Regions from separate parts of the Homo sapiens genome. Here region 1 is linked to region 2. Evidence: promoter capture Hi-C in 16 types of primary human blood cells and fetal thymus (Javierre and others, 2016). All regions are on one chromosome and are shown on one strand. Each heading gives the region's core, a stretch centred on a gene start or on the middle of the fragment in contact. The rest is flanking DNA. Distances are from core to core; before and after follow the strand shown.

Region 1 (3,820 bases), core at 1,170-3,669, 1.1 Mb after region 2:
AAAGTGCTGGGATTACAGGCGTGAGCCACCGCGCCCGGCCAGTACAAAGGTTTTTAAACAGATTCTCATTTAACTTTCACAGCCATCTCTGAAGTAGGTACTATTATCTATTACTATTATTATTATTTTGAGACGGAATTTCATTCTGTCGCCCAAGCTGGAGTGCAGTGGCGCGATCTCGGCTCACTGCAACCTCCGCCTCCCGGGTTCAAGGAATTCTCCTGCCTCAGCCTCCTGAGTAACTGGGACTAGCCACTACACCCGGCTAATTTTTGTATTTTTAGTAAAGACGGGGTTTCACCACGTTGGCCAGGCTGATCTCGAACTCATGACCTCAGGTGATTCGCCTACCTCAGCCTCCCAAAGTGCTGGGATTACAGGCGTGAGCCACCGCGCCTGGCCTATTATTATTATTATTGTCGTTTTTACAGAGGAGAAAGCAGGAGCACCAAGAGGTAGGATAATTTGCTAGAAGACCCATGGCTTAGAAAGGGAAGCCTGGAGATAAGGGGACCAGCCCTCTAGAGCATTGCTCAGCCAAAATACTTGGCCAAGATCACATCTCTGATACCAGGAATGAGATAACCTTTATTAAGTGTTTACCATGTACCAGGCACTAAGCTCAGTGATTTCTAAGGACATCATATAATCCTCACAGCAACCATATGTGGGTCTGCTGTCATCCTTATTCGAGAGAGGCTGAAACGGAGGCTCAGATAGAACAAGTACCTAGCTCAAATATTACTAGAGAAATGGGAAAGTGCAGATTCAAACCCAGGTCTTCCGACTGCAAGTCCCTAGTCCCCAGCCCCAGCTCCACTATATCAGCCTCTGCTAGGAAGAAAGCCGCTAACTATGGACTTTCGTCGCCGGGGTTTCGAGCCTAGGACACACCTGTACAGACCCCCGTTTGCCCCGCCCCTTTCCGGAGGAGACGTCCCCTCCACCAATGAGCGGCGCCGTGGGCGGGCCGCGGGCGCGCATGCTCTGGGCCCGCAGTTGAAGTGGCGAGAGCGCTCAGATACGCGACGCGTAGCAGGCGGGGACCGAACGGGTGCCTCAGTGTCCTTCCCCTCCCCTCGCCTGGCCTCGCCGTCCTCTCCCCGCAGCCGGACCGGAACTATGTGATCCCGGAAGTTCCGGGGCCTTTGCTGTGTGGGATAAACAGTAATGGCGGAGGCTGCAACTCCCGGAACAACAGCCACAACATCAGGAGCAGGAGCGGCAGCGGCGACGGCGGCAGCAGCCTCCCCCACCCCGATCCCCACAGTCACCGCCCCGTCCCTGGGGGCGGGCGGAGGGGGCGGCGGCAGCGACGGCAGCGGCGGCGGCTGGACTAAACAGGTCACCTGCAGGTAGGACGTTGCGCGGCGGAGCGCCGGGCGCGGGGAGGGGGCCGCGGGCCAAGCCTGCGGCGCGGGAGGGAGGAGGGCGGCCGGCCTGCGGCTAGAGGCGCGGGAGGGCGGGGACCGGCGTTGTCTCGATCTCTGCAGCCCTCGCGGCCCCCGCTGCCGCCGCGTTCCCCCAGTCACTGCGTCAACCCCCGCTGGGCCGCGGAGCCCTCAGCGCTGTCCGCGGAGGCCTGGCGGTGCGCGATTACTGCGGAGCCGCGGGGCTGCACCGCCGCTTACACTTCCCTGAGCGCTGCCTGAGCTGGCTGCGAGCGCATCGGGGAGAGGTGGGCTGGCTCCTCCCCTGCCGCTGGAAGGATGCCCCCGCCGCTGCCTCCGGCTCCCGGGGCTCGGGAGGTGGTCACTTGAGGCCGGTCTCCCAGCGATCCTCTCCGGGCCTAGACACCCCGCCGAGGGCCCCAGCGAGCTTGCCTGGCTCCCGGCCCTCTCCTCTCTCCGTGCCATCCGTTTGTAACGTCTTTTCACGTCCCTCCGTCCCTCCGCCCCCCATCCTCCGCCCAACTGTGAGAAGAAGCTTTTGTATTTCTTCTTTGTATGTTTGTCGAGGTTGGCGGTGCTGAGCTTTGTCTTAGAAGCAGGCGTTCGGGGGCCGGGGTCGTCTTCTCCACCCGCGGTTTTTTTGAGCTGCAGATTATTACCCTCCCCCAGCGCTATGTTCCTCTTTTGAAATTTACGCATCTTCCGAAGGGAGTGAAAGGGCTCTTCGCTCCCGGAAGAGAGAGAGGTTTGGTTTTGGTTTGATATGCGAGACGAAAATATTAGAAAAATTAAGGGATGGCGGTTGTATGGATGTGTATGGTTGTAAAAAACTACCTAGCTCTACGCAGAAGAGGGCATTTAATTGTACGTTTTTTATTTTCCGGTTTTTAAATAGTGATCAGTAGCGACTGTAAGCTTTTCTTTTTCTATCAGTTGAATAAATCAACTGAAATGCCGGTTTTCACCTGGGTGGTATAATTTATATGCAAGTATGTAAAAATGATTCCTAATTAGAACTTGTAGTATTAAGGGTGAAATTTGAAACCTTCCCAGTCTTTGATGTGATACATTTATCCTGGCGACCTTCGAAGGTCTCTCAGCCTTTGATATGATACATTTAAGGTGTGAAGGATAAGCTTAATTATTTTACATAATGGGATGTAGAAAGCATAAACGCAATTTCAGGTCACTTGTCTTATTCATCGGTGGATTGTAAAAGTGGAATATTGCCAGGAATGATGATTTTAAAGTTTCTACTCATGGAGCAAATTATTTGAATATCTGTTTCCCTTTTACAATGCTACAGTTGATCTATATGTGCTAGTTACATCTTTTAAAAGATTGAAACCGGCCTGTCGGGGTGGCTAGGTCGGCGTGGTGGCTCACGCCTGTAATCCCAGCATTTTGGGAGGCTGAGGCGGGCGGATCGCCTGAGGTAAGGAGTTCGAGACCAGCCTGGCCAACATGGTGAAACCCTGTCTCTACTAAGAATACAAAAATTAGGCCGGGCACAGTGGCTCACACCTGTAATCCCAGCACTTTGGGAGGCCAAGGCAGGTGGATCACGAGGTCAGGAGCTCAAGACCAGCCTGGCCAAGATGGTGAAACCCCGTCTCTACTGAAAATACAAAAAACATTAGCCGGGCGTGGTGACAGGCGCTTGTAATCTCAGCTACTCCGGAGGCTGAGGCAGGGAGTTGCTTGAACCCAGGAGGCAGAGGTTGCGGTGAGCCAATATCACACCACTTCACTCCAGCCTGGGCGAAAGTGAAACTCTGTCAGAAGAAAAACAAAAAAGAAAAAGAAAGAAAAGAAAGAGCTTAGATTTACTAGTTTTTGGGGGTTTTTTGTATAGCTTTTGCTTGAGACAGTTTTTTATTGTTGTGCAGATTCCTTGATAGGTCTGGGGTTTTAGTGTTTGACATTGTTTTCGGTTGTTCTAGGTACCAACATGATCTCTTACTTAAAACTATTTTCTCCTTTAGATAGAGGAATGTCAACTATCATTTTTTTTTTTTTTTTTTTGAGACAGAGTTTCCCTCTTGTTTCCCAGGTTGGAGTGCAATGGTGTGATCTCTACTTACCACAACCCCCGCCTCCCAGGTTTAATTGATTCTCCTGCCTCAGTCTCTGGCATTACAGATGCCTTAGTAGCTGGGATTACAGGCGTGCACCACCATGCCCACCTGACTAATTTTGTATTTTTAGTAGAGACGGGCTTTCTCCGTGTTGGTCAGGCTGGTCTTGAACTCCCGACCTCAGGTGATCTGCCGGCCTCAGCCTCCCAAAGTGCTGGGATTAGAGGCGTGAGCCACCGCACCCGGTCTATGATCCTTATCGTTCACTTTGAGCTCTCTGAGAAGAGTAGGGCCCTATTTTATCTGCAGGGCTTTCTTTCCTCAGTTCCTCAGTTTCTTTCCTCAGTTCCA
Region 2 (3,370 bases), core at 277-2,776:
GTTGAGGGGAGAATTAGGTTCATGGCTGAGACTGGAAAAAGGGGGTATGATCTAACAGTAATACGCTGGGGAGAATTTAGCAAGGCCTATTTGTTCTGATTCTTCTCTGTGTACCTGTGTCTTCAAAGATAAGGGCATTCCTTTCCTCGATCCTATACTTACAGGATGAGCACCTCTCACTGAAGGGTCTTATACAGAAGAAGGTCAAACAATTCTTTTATGGCCTGCTTCAGGGGAGAAAAGTGGGAAGACACAAAGTGACTTTCCTGCTTCAGTTGTTTCCTCTAATGCCAACGAGTCATATTTTGCGGCAGTGTGTCCTGAATCTCATCAACAGCGGAGTAAAAATTGGAGTGTCTAGAACAGGGGTTCTCAACCTTTAGTGCAGAACTTGTTAAAAACACAGAATCCTGGGAACTGCCCCTTCCCGCAAGAGTCTCATTTGTTCTGGAATTAAGCTGTCATCTTCACTTGTTAACAAGTACTCCCATGTTGGTTGCAATGGAGGTCACCACTATACCAGACTTTGAGAAACAGTGGTTTAGAGATAAAGGATTGAAGACCAGGTGGGATTAGAAAAGACCTTGAACCCACACTAAGGACTTTGGCTATTATTTTGAAGACAATGAAAAACCTTTAATGGGCTTTAAGCAGGTGAGTGATATAATCATATTTGAACTGTTAAAAGACCACTTTATAGCAGAATGAAAAATGAACTGGAAGAAGCTAAAATTAAAGCTAAAGAGAACCATTAGGAAGTTATTGCCATAATCTGTAGGCTCCTAAAAGAACAAACCAAGATAAAGGATGGATTTGGAAAGCTTTAGAAAGTAGAAATTGGCAGCAGTTGGTGGTCCATTGACTGTAGTAAGTGAGAGAGGAGGAACCAAGCCAGGTTTTTGTGCTTGGGTGACTGGTTGAATAGTGATTTCAGTCATTTAGATTTGAGTGGTAGGTTTGTGGAGAAAAGTAGTGCGGTTTAGGAGATACTGAATTTGACACGCCTGTGGAGTATCCAGGTGGAAATGTTTTTCTTACTAGATAGTGAACCCCTCATGGGCAAGTTCGTCTATCCATCTGCAGCACCAGAACCTAGTAAAGCGCCAGAATGAATGAACCAACCAACCCATCAATGGATCTGATACTATTGGCCCCATTTTGCAAAGGGCTATGCTGAAGCCCAAGGGACGAAGTGAGGGGGGTCCACAAGTTAGCGACAGCTCTGGGACTCGAACCCAGGACAGCTGACTCCCGCCGTGACCACGGGATCCGCGCGAGGCCCTCCCCTGCCGCGCCGGCCAGGCCCGCACCCCCTACCCTCAAGCCGCGCCGCCGCCTGCACCCACGACCCCTGATGCTTGGGTCCCCGCGGCTCTCGGCCCAGCGCGACTCCAGAGGCTCCGCCCAGCGCCCCGGGCCCCCATCCCGACTCCCACCCCGCTCGCGCGCTCAGTCCCAGCGACCCGCACTGCGCTCCCCGCCTGGGCGCCGCTGCACTCACCACGGCTGGTCCAGCTCGCGGCTCTGCCTTTCCTGTGTGCTCCCTCCAGATTCCCCGGCTCGTTCAAGGGAAACCGCTGCCGCCGCCCTCGGGTTCCGCCGCGGGGCTGCGAGCGCGCGCGGGCCAGTTCGGGCCGGGGGCGGGAACCGGCTCGGATGCTCAGGGACGGTGGGGGTGGCAGGGCCCACCGGCTTGAGGCTGCCTTTCCCGGCGTTCCCTCGTTTATTGGCTCACTCTTCCTTTCATCCATCCATCCTTTGCGCAACAATATTTGATGGGAAGCCTGCCAAGGTAACACTGTTTTAGCACCTGGAACTAAGTCGGAAAATAAATTAACTAAATGAACAAGGCCATTGGAGATGGTGCTCCGTGCCACGAAGAAAATGAAACGAGGTGATGGAAGGCAGTGCGGGAAGGGGGAGAACTGTGTGAAATTAGGCGGCCTGCGCTAGGCCTTCTGAGTAAGGGGCCATTGGTCTGAGACCTGGATGTCAAGAAGGAGCAGCTGAAGCAAAGATCCAGGGGAGAGAGCCTGGAGAGGGAAGGGCCCGTGCAAAAGCTGAAAAGCCTGGGGCACTCTGGCGAGTTGCAGGCCAGTGTGGGTGAGACAGAGAGAGCTAAGGAGACAGGCCAAGCGAGGAAGCTGGAGAGGTGGAGACAGGCCACGGCGGCCAGGAGTTTGGACATGACATTAAACAGGGCGAGAAGACATTGCGGGGGTGCAATCAGGGGCTGGTGGGACTGGTTTCCATTTCACACAGCTCTCTGGCCACAGGTGCTTGATTGGATTCTAGAGAACAAGAGAGCAACGGAGAAGCTAGGCCAATGCCAACCTCCAGACAGTTTACATTCTGTACTCGCCCACCAGATTGGTGTGGGGACAAAGCCAGGTCCTTCTTCTTTCCAGCATTCAGTCTGCCAACTTTTTTTTTTTTTTAGACAGGGTCTCACTCTGTGGCTCAGGCGCTAGTGCAGTGGTGCAATCTCAGCTCACTGCAGCCTCTGCTTCCCGGGTTCAAGCAATTCTTGTGCCTCAGCCTCCCGAGTAACTGGGATTACAGGTGTGTGCCACCAGGCCCAGCTAAATTTTTTTGTATTTTTAGTAAAGACGGGGGTTTTGTCACGTTGGCCAGGCTGGTCTCGAACTCCTGACCTCAAGCGATCTGCCCGCCTTGGCCTCCCAAAGTGCTACGATTATAGGCATGAGCCATCGCACCCGGCCAGTCAACCAACATTTGAGTGTGCACTAGGCCCTGCATCAGGCACTGGGGGTATGCTCAGGTACAAGGCCCTTCATGGTTCCTGCCCCATGGAGCTTGCTATCTAGTCTGCACATTTCCTACGTGTAGACATGCATCCTACCTATGTCTCCCTAGGTGAATGCTTCAAAAAAAAAAGGCCGGGGCGGGGACCTTCAATGAGGCTATGGTGCAGTAAACATATTCCTTATGCCAGGGTGCACCAATCCATTGGGCCACACTGTTTAGTAGCAAGAAATTTCTAGCCCTCTCTCCTGAGTCTCCATCTGTAAACTAGGGGACTGAGAACATTACTATTAAAAAAAAACCCTTCTAGCTCTAAAATGTTGTCATAGGGTATGGAAGACCATTATTTTCAGTTCCTCTTTTCCAACTATCTAAAGCGTTTGTGTTTGGAAATAAGCTTCTGAACTGCTCACCTGCAGGCTAGAAAAATCTGAGACTTGATTTTGATGTTCCAAGGGTCAGACTCAGCGTATGCTTTAGGGCTTCAGCATGAAAGTGGTTCCCCAAATAAGAAAAGGTCAGCTTTGATGAAGGATGAAGAAGGATGGAAATATAGGAGATTAAGGGAATCTGAATACACACCTGCAGGCAGATGTGTAGGTTG

What was found. The method cuts DNA at HindIII sites, captures the fragments that hold promoters and counts their contacts. A CHiCAGO score of 5 or more calls a contact.
Region 1: a contact is called between a fragment that was not itself captured here and the fragment with the promoter of AGK in region 2, in 10 of 17 cell types (total B cells, naive CD4 T cells, naive B cells and 7 more). The highest score is 15.3, in total B cells.

Annotation. Positions count from the first base shown.
Region 1 is chr7:140,476,695-140,480,514 of GRCh38, reverse strand. MKRN1 (makorin ring finger protein 1) reads left to right here and starts at 1,010. Exons shown (of 8, transcript NM_013446.4): 1 at 1,010-1,355. The coding sequence starts at 1,171. RefSeq lists enhancers at 1-573, 904-1,744 and silencers at 880-989, 1,280-1,419, 1,700-1,779. The HindIII fragment of the contact is 221 bases long and covers 2,309-2,529 here.
Region 2 is chr7:141,549,566-141,552,935 of GRCh38, reverse strand. It overlaps AGK (acylglycerol kinase), which reads right to left and starts at 1,526. Exons shown (of 16, transcript NM_018238.4): 1 at 1,502-1,526. It overlaps AGK-DT (AGK divergent transcript), which reads left to right and starts at 1,592. Exons shown (of 6, transcript NR_183408.1): 1 at 1,592-1,792. RefSeq lists silencers at 1,282-1,461, 1,642-1,731. The HindIII fragment of the contact is 2,342 bases long and covers 824-3,165 here.